Linked DNA regions of Homo sapiens: regions 1 and 3 are each linked to region 2. Evidence: promoter capture Hi-C in 16 types of primary human blood cells and fetal thymus (Javierre and others, 2016). All regions are on one chromosome and are shown on one strand. The core of a region is centred on a gene start or on the middle of the fragment in contact, and the rest is flanking DNA. Distances in the headings are between cores, read along the strand shown. Region 1 has its middle 130 kb from the start of MIR6090. Region 2 holds the start of FLI1 (Fli-1 proto-oncogene, ETS transcription factor). Region 3 overlaps LOC124902789 (a long non-coding RNA gene).

Region 1 (4,102 bases), core at 304-2,803, 300 kb before region 2:
AAAGAAGAAAATTGGCAAGATTAATGATTTGGGTAAATGATTGCATTGGATTTCTTCTGTTTTCAGTCTCTTGGTTTGGTATCATACTGCTACGAGGTGAGTGAATTTTCCCTTGTCCACACCCTCTTGAAGCAGATAAATGGCTTGTGTCCCACTATTATTTTAATATTTTATGTTCTTCACATCCTTCCTTAATTTCTGCGTCTCTCCAACATTTGCACTATTAATCTGTGTGGTCTCGATGAATTTGTTGAGAGGGGCAGGTGTGTTGCAAAACATACAGAGTTCTGCTTTTCCTTCTGACTGTTGAGTTGACTTTCAAAAAAAATAAGCTAAGGGCAGAGTGGGTTTTATGTTTCTGTAGAAGCTTTTGTTCTCTGACTCTGGTAAGAGGTGATGTGGGAGAAGATGGTAACGAGAACTGATAGACTACTGGGGAGTTATTAAAGATCCCAGGCCAATTTGGGGATGAATGGAAAATTTTTGAGAGAAATTAACTTTCAAAACCACTTATAAGACTGATTTCATTCACTCCTAAGATATGTATCTTGTGTTTACATGAGGTAATAGACAAAAGGAAAGAAGGCTTAATAGAGAAGCTGAGCTTTGAGCTGGAGTTGGAAGAATGAGTTCAATTTCCATAGCTGGTGAAGAGAATTACAGCCAGAAGGAAGAGCTGGCCTAGAGGCATGGAGGCACCAATGTTTTGGGCACATCAAGAAATATGAAGAGGGAAATGCACCAAGTATTTATGAAATCCAAAGGCTTCTGTCCTTGGCCAAAGTATAGCCCATATGGAAAAACAGTTGTCTGGATGACATTTTTGCTCACTGTACAGCCCTTCCCAATTCAGTCTAAATAATTAAAAAGTCCCTTCATTCTGCCAGCCCTTGATCTCTCACCTCACAAAACTATTTATGTGCATGATCACACACACACACACACACACGCACGCACACCCGCATACATATTGCCCTGTTCTATTTACCTGCCCGGCATACAAAGTTCTGTCATTGTCGTAAATAAAGAGATATGTTTATTGAAGACAAAGCTCAGCTAGCATCTCTTATCCAACTGTAAACTCCACAATCATAAGCAATTGTAAGCACAAGCATATACTTAATAAATATTTGGTGAGTTGAAGTGAATGAGATCAGCCAGCAGGATAAGACATTGTATATGCAAAGCTTTCCCTTGGGATTCTTAGGTTTGTATTCTTGACTTTTCCCCCAAATATACAGAAGACTGATGGGAAGACAGTGTCATCCTTTGTTTCCGTTCAAGAGCAAAGGAAGGAAAATAGCACATGTTGAGTGTCTACTAAATATGTTATTCACACTTATTTCATTTTATTTACCTAAAAATTTCCCTATATTATCAAGAGGTTGGAGGCTCCAAAGGCCAGAGGGACTCTAAGAGGAACACAGCTGGCCTGCAGCAGAAACGGGGTTGACACTCACATCTGCATGATTCCAAGGGCCCCTGCTGCCCCAGGCTCTGCTCCTTCCTCCAATGCTTCCTGGGAATCTGGGTAGTCTTTCATTTTACTAAAATGAAATTCCTAAAGTTCTCCTTTAAAATGAAAGTTTTTTATCTCCATTCACAAAAAGAAAAAAAAAAAGAAAGAAAACATCCTCTGACCAATGGAAAAAATAATCCATTGCTTTGCTTGCTGGCAAAGGGCCCAATCGTGTGGGCCAGGCTGTGAAAGAGAGGGAGAAAGATTCTCATGGAAAGCAACCACTCCACCCACTCATATTTGTGTTTTTCTGAGGTTAGCCCAGGGCCCCCACCACTGACCAGCACATCACTTTGGTGACTGTTCCCACCATCAGCACCCAGATAGCACAGAGGGCTGAGGCATTCGAATCTTATCACCCCTATTAAAAGATAAAACCTAAAATTCAACCCTTATCAATATAAGCTTCATGCACTCCATTCAGCGCTTACAAGGAAAGCATACAATATGTTTCTGATTGTGGCTCAAGTCAGACCCAGGCAGCCTTTGCCTTGCCAGTGCGGCCTTGAAAAAGGTAATTAAAAACAGAGTAGTCTGCTTTGTTTTGATATTGGCCAGACCTTCTCTTTAGGAAATATATGGTAATAAAATGGATGAAATGAGGGGTAAAAAGAATGAAATCAACATCCTTTAGCAAAGTCACCCAAATGCTTTGTGAAGATCCATGTTTCTTCCTCGTGGGCTGTTCACAGTTAATTTGTGATCCCATCTTCATCTCACTCATCCGCCCATTCACTCATTCAATGTGTGTGAATGCCCTCCATAAATTTGTACTGTGCTAGTCACTGAAGTACAGAGCTGAATAAAACAAGACTGCTTCTCTCAAGGAGAGGAGAGGATAAAGGATATAAACAAATAATTATTTTGGAAAGGATCTTAGTCTACCTCTCCAGCTTTTACTAACACCATGATGAACTCTGCCCCCCACTACAGTTTCACGCTGCGTTTCACACTATGTTCTGCAAGCACCTGATGACTTGAAGCCTCACAAAGGCATCATCCTTTGCCTTCAAGATGTGGCCTCTGTTTCTCCTTTCACTACTGGTGTGCTACCCTGCCCTCTCTTCCCAGTTAATTCTTACTCATCCTTCTAGGCTCAGCTCAGGTGTCAGTTTATCCAAAAGGTAACAATGATGTCTCCTCCCCATAGGTTATGTGTCCCTCCCATCAGCTCCCAAAGAATGTCTCAGATTTTCCCAACACACCCTTCACACACTTAACATTGTAATTATCTGGATATTTTTCTTTCTCGTTTACTATATTGAGAAGGCTAAGAGGGAATGGAGTCACGTTACAATTGTTTTGGAGCCTAGCTCAATGCACAACGTACAAGTGCTCAAGAAATGTGGAAAGAAGAAATTAACTGTTTTTGTATAAAGGAGGGAGAGGTCAATTCTGGAGTAGGGAATCAGAGAGGGCTTCACAGAAACTATTGAATTGAATCTTGAAGAATTAACGTAAATTCACCAGATGGACAAGTTTCAGAAAAAAACTTTCCAGGAAAAACAAACAGTACATACAAAACCAAAAAGAAAGAAAACAAACATTCAAAGAAATGTAAGTATTTAACATGTCTGGGGTATAAATTGCGATGATTAAAATTTGGCTATGATTAAGAAGTTCACCCTCACCAATGTGAATGGGCATCATCCAATCCACTGAAGGTCCAAGTAGAACAAAGAGACAGAGGGAGGGTAAATTCTTTCTCTTTTTTAGAGCTAGGACATCCAACTCTTCCTACCCTAGGATATCAGAGCTTCAGGTTCCTGGGCCTTTAGAATCCAGGACTTAACACTGGTGCCCACCCCCCTTCCAGCACTACTTCTACCCCCAGCCTCATTGCCACCCTGGGTTCTCAGGTCTTTGGACTCAGTCTAAATTACACCACTGGCTTTCCTCATTCTCAAGTTTGCAGATGAAATATCATGGGACTTCCTGGCTTCCATAATCACATGAGACAATTGCCCTAATAAATCACCTCTTATATATTTATATATAGCCCCTTGGTTCTGTTTCTCTGCAGAACACTGACTAATACATAGATTATCAAGTGGTAAAGTAGCAAGAGATGAGGTTGGAGAAATACACATGGAGTAAACCATGGAAGGGGTAATACATTTGCATCGTATCCTATAGGCGTGTAATAGAGAATATAATCCTTACCGTTTCCCTCGCCAGCATATGCACAAGAGATAATTCTAATAGTGTGCTAACACAACACAACATGAAAAGCAAATCTACTGTACAGAAAATAATCTATATTTTGAAACTAAATAGGTACAACTTTGAAGTATTCACTAGTTTTGATGATCTACTCAATTTCAGCAACACAGGGGATAATGGGACTTATTTAGGGAAAAAAAAATTGTTTAAGCTCCACCTGAATTAGGTCGTCAGACCCTGAGGTCCAGGCATGCATGTTTTGAAAAAAATCTTCACAAGTAATTTCAGTATGCACACACACACACTAACACACACACACACACACACACACACTACTCAAACAAACTGGGCTTAGGGGAACACATGCTCTCTAAATCCATTGTCCTGTCATTTGTCTTCACTGATGTGTTAGTTCTTTAA
Region 2 (4,107 bases), core at 851-3,350:
CCTCCTGGTGGTGGAGTTGGAGTCCTTTCTGGCTGAATGAGGAGCAATGTGGCTGGGGTGTGCGGGTTTCTGGTGAGGTCCGGGTGGGAAGCCGTCTCTCCGCATTCTCCTGAAAGCTCTGTTGTAGTTTGAAGGTCGGTAGAGCCTGGGCTGAAAAGGAAACAATTTGGGGTTTGAAAGGATGTAATTCATTCTTCCTTTCCCGTTAACCTCTTTCCTCTCTGGAAAGCACGTGGAAACGCTGAAGGGAGGAGTGAGAGGGCAGGCAGCCTGCCGCGGGGAGGAAAGGGTTAAGCCTGATTTCTTTTAATTGAACTCCAGAACTGGTGGCCCCAGGCAAAGGGGGGGACTGACCCCGCTAGCGGTAACCAGATGTGGCGGTCCCAGGGGAGCCCCGGAGCAGACCCCTGGATTGAGAAGCAGACAGGAGCGGGGGGAGTCAGCCCGGCCCCCATCCCACCATCCACCCCACCCCCACCCCCAACACGCACACCAAGTCTCAATTGCTGGCAGGCTGCACCCGCCACTCCAGGTCTGGTCACGTTCAGACCCGTGTCTGTATTCGAACCCAAAATTGGAGCCGAATTGATGAGACTAATTTCTAGAGAGGGAGGGGGAGGGAGGGAGACGAGTGAGCTCTCGGGCTCAATTGCTCCTGAAGAAATAAAGAATTAATAAGTCACCTTTTTTCGCCTCTGTGGACACCCTTTTGAAATTTTTTCTTCCAATTGACTTGGATCTCCTCTGGATTTTTTTTCCCTCTTTCCCCCGTCGGACTCTTAAATAAAAGTGAGCAAGTCCAAAGCGTGGTCCGGAGAGCGTGGACAAGGTAACCTGTTTTGGATGTCCGGGAGAAGGGAGTCCGGCCGAAAGGGCCCAGCCCCTCGAGGCTGCTCCAACTGGGGCGCGCGGCGGCCCAGGAGGGAGGCGGGGAGGTCTCCGGGTTGGGCCGGGGAACGCCGGCCTCCAGGCTGGGTAGGGAGGACGGTCCAGAGCGCGGGCCTCCGGGTCTCACCCCGGGAAAAGTCTGGGTCTGCTCTGCGCTGTTGCGTGCTGCGCTCCTGGGACCTGCTGACTGTCCTAGAGGGAACGTCCCGCGGTAGTGTCAGTTCCCTGGGGACCAGGAAGGGCGACTCTTGCCTGGGAGTCAGTGCTTGGGCCGTCGGGTCCGGGTAAGCGCTGGGGGTTTGGCTCGAGAAGATGCGGATAGGTGGCCTAGGGCGCCGCGGATCTCCGCCCTCTGCGGGCACCGGGAGCCCAGGGTCGAGGCGCGCCGCCCCGAGGGGCCCCTTCTCCTAACAATGCGCCCGGAATGGAGTCCGCGCCCTGACAGCGCGGGTCAGCCCGAAACCGCCCAGAATCCGCTTCGATGAGTGGGTGAGCCGCTCTGGGAGTCTGCCGCGTCTCGGCAGCGGAGGGCCTGAGTGGAAAAATTCTTATTGGATGCACTTTTTAATGGTTGGTTTGCCTCGGTTTTCGTCCGAGTCTTCCCCGGCAGTAGGCGCTGGGTTACCCGCAGCCCTAGCCAACTCTCCCTCCATACCCCCCCTACCCCACCCCCAAAAAGTTTGTCTCCGGCTGGAAAAAGCATTAATGAACGTATCTGTGGGAAGAAACGGAAAGTGAATGAGTCAGGAGGGCCACCTTCGGCCAACCGCCTCAGGAAAAGCAAAGAAGCCAAAGGTCTTTGGCTTTGGATTTTGGGGGAAGGTGATGGGGGGAGGTTCAGACTTCGGGAATCAGGGCGCGGACGCTGGGCGTGGACCCCGTCATTGTTCCCGGCTAGCTCTTATCTCCCAGGAGCAAGTATCCTGTGTGCGCAGCGCATGAATGTGTCTGGGCATCTCCGCGTATATTTATATAGTGTGTGATGCGAAAAGCAGGACCAGCAGGGGAGGAAGAGGGGGTGTGGGGGGGGAGGGAAGACGAGGGAGAGCAGAGGGGAGAGAAGAGAGAGGAGAGCTCGAGGCGAGAGAGAGAGAGAGAGAGAGAGAGAGAGAGAGAGAGAGAGAGAGAGAGAGATAGGACTTCCTCCCCGATTCGCAAAGTGAAGTCACTTCCCAAAATTAGCTGAAAAAAAAGTTTCATCCGGTTAACTGTCTCTTTCGCTCCGCTACAACAACAAACGTGCACAGGGGAGTGAGGGCAGGGCGCTCGCAGGGGGCACGCAGGGAGGGCCCAGGGCGCCAGGGAGGCCGCGCCGGGCTAATCCGAAGGGGCTGCGAGGTCAGGCTGTAACCGGGTCAATGTGTGGAATATTGGGGGGCTCGGCTGCAGACTTGGCCAAATGGACGGGACTATTAAGGTAAGCGGCGGGGCAACGGACGCGGGCGGCGGGGACCGGCCGGGGAGGCGAAGCGGCGGGCGGGTAGGTGCGGGGCCCGCGTCCCGGAAGACGTGGCCTCTCTCCCTTCCCTCCGCGCCCCGGCTTCGCGCCGGCTCCTCCGGCGCTCGGGTGGCGAGTCCTACTCGCGGGCCAGCCGGCCAGGCGCCCGCATTGAGGGCGACCCTCCCCCGAAATCCCAGCCCCCAAAGTGGAGCCCCGGCCCCCCTCCCACCTCGCTGCCCGCCGGGGCTGCAGGAGGGGACGGCGGGAAACCGGGGGACCCCAGGGTACGGAACGGAGTCAAGGGCGAGAGACCTCGGGGTCCACCACTCCCACCGACACCCGGGGCTCCCGTGGCCCCAGCGCTAGGCACTGGGCTTCCTCTCCGCAGAGGCGGAACACGGCGGGGGCGGGGGCTGCAGTCGCCCGGGCTCGGGTCCCTGCCTGGTGGGCCCTGGGGTGGGTAAGTGGCCTCGTTGCACGAGGGTAGGGGTGCAAGTGAGTGTGTCGGGGGATCTATCTGAGCGGGCTCCTCCAGATGGAAGCCCCTGTTTACATGTCAGCGCTTTCCCTTCCTCTCGGCACTCAGTCGCCCGGCTCTAGGCGCTGGAGAGCCGCCGGCTCCGCGGGACTCCTGGGCCGGCCTCGCCGCCTCTCCGGCGGGGAACCTTCCCCAGCCCCCGTCCGCACAGATCCCTAGCGCCCCGAGCCCCCGCCCTTCGCGCCTAGGCGTGCGCCGGCTCCAGGACCAGGGCTCCTGGAGCTGTCGCCTCCGAAAGGGTCCTGCGTCCTTCGGAGCCGCCTCCGTTGCAGGGGCCGGCTGTGAGCCCGCGCCCCGCGCCCGCCCGGCCATTCCCACCCCAGCCGCCGCCGCCAAGCCTGGGTCTAGGTTGCAAAGTGCAACCCAGGCGGAAAGGTGAGGGTTTGGGTTCGCGTCTCACTTCAGAAAAGTTGACTGCTGTCTCTGAAAGGGTTCGCCAAGTAGGGCCAGGAGCAGAGAGGAGGGACACCCCCTAACGTGACGGGCCTTAGAGGACCTAGGGGAATGAATGGGACCAGGGGTTAGCTTCGAGGCTGCCGCGCAACACCAAGCGGGAGTCTGTCTGGAAAAACTATTAGGCTGGCGAGGTGGGGACTGGCAGAGCCCGCCATTCCCCAGAACCCGAAAGAATCGACTCCCTGCTCAGGGCTCAGCAAGAGAAGGCTAAGATGTTGGGCTCAGAGAATTCAAGAGATTTTTATCTTCTGGGTGGGGTCGTGGTTTTTATTTTCTAAGTTTTTTTTATGAAAGTTTGAAATATGCTGACTTAGGTAAAAGACACCAACCGAAGGAACTTGCAAATCTGGAGATGAGATAACTGACTGTGATGGGTTAAAGGGAGCTATAAGAGCCTATAAGAGCCTGGGTTCCTCAAACCCAAAGTGAGTAGGTGAGAAGTAGGTGAGAGGGGATTCCTGCAAAGACCCGAGAGTGGGGGTCATTGGGCCATTTTATGCCTGTTTCTCTGCTTCCTGTTGATGTGTTCATGCAAGTGTCTCTGTATTTCTGGGTTTAGTAATGAGATGCTCCCCTCTAGAAAACTCCCTCGCCCCAATCAGGACAGTTACCACTTACTCTGAAGGCCTCTTCTGATCCAGAAGGGTGGTAAGATGGCCTCAGGGTCTTGATGTGGACACCCTAAGGAAAAGTGAAGAAATATCTCCACACTGCTTAAACTCTACGCACAGGCCCTGAGCAAAAGGAGGAAGCTGTGGTCTGTGTACCCAGGATGTGCTAACCT
Region 3 (3,986 bases), core at 44-2,543, 260 kb before region 2:
GTGACAACGTCTGTGATTCCTTTGGGTCCCCCTTTCTCAAGTTCCTTGTGCTCTGCACCTGTCTACATGAATGATGGGGAGGGTTGGAAGGAGCAGAACATATTAATAGCACTCTCCTTTTCTACCCAAGCTCTGCAAAAATTAAGAAATAAAAATAAAAACAAAAAACAGCATATGAGACAGGATACCAAAATATGACCCTTATTACTGATGAAGCTGATGTAACAGCGATGAGTTTACACCTAAGGGCAATTGGACAAGGGAGCTTCCTAATGATATTTCCAGATTAGGCTAACTTACACTCCCAAATGCAGGCTCAGATGAACAGGTCACCTTTCCCCACTCGGGGGCCTATACCAGTATGAGAATTATGGCATGGCCTAACAAAAACAAATATAAATCCCTCACGGGCAGGACTAATTTCTTCTTTCAAAACCCACCCATTAAACATAGTATTCCTGGGAGGGGAGCAAGCAAGGAGCAGAGAAAAGCTGGGAGTGTCACACTAATGGAGCTCCTTCCACATTAAAGGAAACACCAGGAGTAAAGAAGAAAAGTGCCAACATGTTATATAGTATTTTCATTTTTGTGTCTCTTGATGAAACTAAAAGCTATTTGTAGGCGAGAATAATGCTTTTTCATCTAATATTTTCATCCTATACAAGTCAACTACTTATACTTGACACAAAGTACGTGTTCAACCTATTTGTTAAATACTAAAGAGTGAGGAGTCAAAGTGTGATGGGTTCACATAGAAAGGAACTGCTGTACCAGTAGAAGTGGAAGAGGAGGAAAGATTTGACGAAAGCCTGCGTAGAAGAAGAGGTATTTGATCCAGATGTTGGGGAAGCAGTAGACTCTTGCCACATGACCCTTAGTACACAGAAGAAATCGACTCTTGCTACACAGAAAAGACAAAGGCAACAATAGTTGCTTAAGCCCAGAGGCATGAAATTGTACAGCAAACCCTGGGTGAAAAAATTCTGCATGAAAAAAGTATAGAATATGAGAGATGAGGCAGGAAAAGCTTGATGTACTTCTTTACCTTGGAATACTTAATAGGGATGCCTGAAAATGTAAAAGTCAAAAGAGTGACTGTCTCCTTGAGTTTCATTGTTTTCTTTGAGCTTAATTTTGGTTGTTAATGTAGTAAGAGTAATATTTTAAACTGTGGGGAAGCCTCTTCTAGACCTGTCTGCTTACCATTCCTGATCCTAATTCAACTCATATTAAGATCCTTTCACAACTGGGAACACCCAGAGTGCTAATGTCCCTCCAGCAGCATGAAACAACAGGGAGGTGAAGGCCATAAACCTTTGCAGCAGACGAGTCACAAGCTACGTGTCCATGTGAAGAAAATGTGGGTCTGCAAAGGCTGCTGGTCGCTGGTGGTGTGATTTTCTGTCTAAACCAAAGACAGGAAGATAGAATGATGTATCCTTTTCCATTTGTATTATTTTCACTTTCAAAAAAAATTATCTTGTTATTTTTTAAAAATATTGTTATCATTTTTATTATTTTTTCATCAAATAATTATATAAAAATTTCCAGCATAAAATTAAGCTTTATTTACTCAGGAAATCTATATTTGAACTGAAAGCTCATCAAAAAGATACTGAATATTTCCCAAATTCTGGTAACTGATAACATTTGAATTTCTTTCTCTGATGTTTCAATGATTCAGCTAATGGCCTCCTATGGAGTTTTCCTCTCAGACCCTCTGTTTTGGAAACAACACATCCCACCTATAGGGACCAACAGCCATTCATATTTCTGCTATGTGACCCTCACCCTTGGCCATACCTAACTGATCTAGAAATAGGTACATGACCCACTCAGAGAATTTGGAATTGGGGCTAAAAGAGTCAGTTATCGAATATGACTCAAATGTAAAATCTAAACTTGGGATCTGAGGATCTAACATTTGTTGCTTGCCTGTAGACTGAATTACAGAGAGAGGTGGCAGGCAAAAAAGAAACAAAGACACCCGGCCGGGCACGGTGGCTCACGCCTGTAATCCCAGCACTTTGGGAGACCGAGGCGGGCAGATCACGAGGTCAGGAGATGGAGACCATCCTGGCTAACACGGTGAAACCCCATCTCTACTAAAAATACAAAAACTTAGCCGGGCGTGGTGGCGGGCACCTGTAGTCCCAGCTACTCGGGAGGCTGAGGCAGGAGAATGCTGTGAACCCGGGAGGCAGAGCTTGCAGTGAGCCAAGATCGCACCACTGCACTCCAGCCTGGGCGACAGAGCAAGACTCCATTTCAAAAAAATAAAAATAAAGAAAAAAAAAGAAACAAAGACACCTATGTATATGACCAAAAAATCTTGGTAAGAGATTGGATATAGCCAAGGAGGGAAAAGGAGAAGTCGAAGTCGATGTCTCAGTTTCTGACCATAAATATTAAAAGAATGTGTTATTAATGACATAAGAGAAGAGCAGTTAGATTTTGAAGATCATTATTACAAAAGTGCTAAATGAAATTATGAGAGCTGGTAAACCTCTTGGGAGAGTGGCTGGGGCTGAGGGATGAGCCTAGCTCCTTTGAGGCTGCCCAAAAGTAGGGGCAAAAGGGAAGGAGATGTTAAGAAAGGAGTTTAGGCAGGAGTTTAAGATGTAGAAGAGATGTTTTGCCTTAGGAAAAAGACATAACATTAGATTCTCCCTCTCTAATATATTATTTACCTTCATTGATGATTACAGTTGAAAGACTTGAATGTAATAGAGCAGACTGGAGAGATGTTATAGAACAGACTGGAGAGATGTTATAGAACAGACTGGAGAGATGTTATTTTTATTTAGAAACAGCTGCTCACATATACCATTAGTAGAAATATAAAGATAAATCATTTTGGAGAGAAATCTGGGAATATACATTAAAAGTGTGGCTCATGCCTGTAATCCCAGTACTTTGGGAGGCCGAGGTGAGTGGATCATAAAGTCAGGAGTTCAAGACCAGCTTGGCCAAGATGGTGAAACCCCGTCTCTACTAAAAATACAAAAAAAAAAATTAACTGGATGTGGTGGTGGGCGCCTGTAATCCCAGCTACTCCAGAGGCTGAAGCAGGAGAATCACTTGAACCCAGGAGGTGGAGGTTGCAGTGAGCCGAGATCATGCCACTGCACTCCAGCCTGGGCAACAGAGGGAGAGTCTGTCTCAAAAAAAAAAAAAAGAAGAAAGAAAGAAGAAAGAAAGAAAGAAAGAAAGAAAGAAAGAAAGAAAGAAAGAAAGAAAGAAAGAAAGAAAGAGAAAGAAAGAAGAAAGAAAGAAAGAAAGAAAGAAAGAAAGAAAGAAAGAAAGAAAGAAAAGAAAAAAGAAAAGAAAAGAAAAGAAAAAAAAAGTATTATGTGCATGGACTTTGACCCAGTAGAGTGGAAACAGAGTTGCTTGCCAGGCACTCTGTTCTGGACCCTGTCTGCCCACCCTCAAGAGAAGCCCCCAGTGATGGGTGTCTTTCCCCACAGCCACAGCTACATAGGCAGGAGTAAGCACTGAGCCCCGTCCTCTGGATTTTTAAATTGTAACAGAGAAAGAGAGAGATTTGGCCTCTTGTTATGTAGCTGGACCGATGATGCATAAATTCTGGAATTGCTGCAAGGTCATGCTTCCTATCATGTGGAACAAGAAAAACAGTGGAAACTTGCCTACCAAGAGAGAGAAGAATGCCACAGATGCACAGACAGGAGAAACAAGAGATGGAGAGGAAGTTCTGACAGTTTTTCAGTTCCTGGCTCTGGAACCTGCACAGTTCCAGCTGCCTTCCTGACAATCACAGAGGCCCATCACTCACCTCTGAATCTAGAAATTTTTTTTTTTTCCCAAGGAGAGCTCAAGATGCTTCCTATTACTTGCAACTAAATGAGTCTCAACAGTAATTCCATTCCTAAGAGTTTTAGCCTTAAGAAACAGTTTCAGACACACAGTTGCATATGTAAAGATAAATACCATAGTATTGCATGTAATTTTGATAAAATGATCGA

Evidence for each region. The method cuts DNA at HindIII sites, captures the fragments that hold promoters and counts their contacts. A CHiCAGO score of 5 or more calls a contact.
Region 1: a contact is called between a fragment that was not itself captured here and the fragment with the promoter of FLI1 in region 2, in 1 of 17 cell types (activated CD4 T cells). The highest score is 5.3, in activated CD4 T cells.
Region 3: a contact is called between a fragment that was not itself captured here and the fragment with the promoter of FLI1 in region 2, in 4 of 17 cell types (total CD8 T cells, activated CD4 T cells, naive B cells and 1 more). The highest score is 5.9, in total CD8 T cells.

What each region holds. Positions count from the first base shown.
Region 1 is chr11:128,392,905-128,397,006 of GRCh38, forward strand. No RefSeq gene overlaps it. Among named protein-coding and RNA genes, the nearest start is that of MIR6090, 130 kb to the right of the region's middle. The HindIII fragment of the contact is 737 bases long and covers 1,186-1,922 here.
Region 2 is chr11:128,691,972-128,696,078 of GRCh38, forward strand. FLI1 (Fli-1 proto-oncogene, ETS transcription factor) reads left to right here and starts at 2,101. Exons shown (of 9, transcript NM_002017.5): 1 at 2,101-2,305. The coding sequence starts at 2,288. It overlaps SENCR (smooth muscle and endothelial cell enriched migration/differentiation-associated lncRNA), which reads right to left and starts at 4,052. Exons shown (of 3, transcript NR_038908.1): 1 at 3,942-4,052; 2 at 684-1,420; 3 at 1-150. RefSeq lists silencers at 1,160-1,209, 1,230-1,369, 2,053-2,422, 2,643-2,692, 2,733-2,952 and 1 more and a cis regulatory region at 1,589-2,321. The HindIII fragment of the contact is 9,137 bases long and covers 1-4,107 here.
Region 3 is chr11:128,433,743-128,437,728 of GRCh38, forward strand. All of the region lies in intron 1 of LOC124902789 (a long non-coding RNA gene), which reads left to right. Among named protein-coding and RNA genes, the nearest start is that of MIR6090, 87 kb to the right of the region's middle. The HindIII fragment of the contact is 536 bases long and covers 1,026-1,561 here.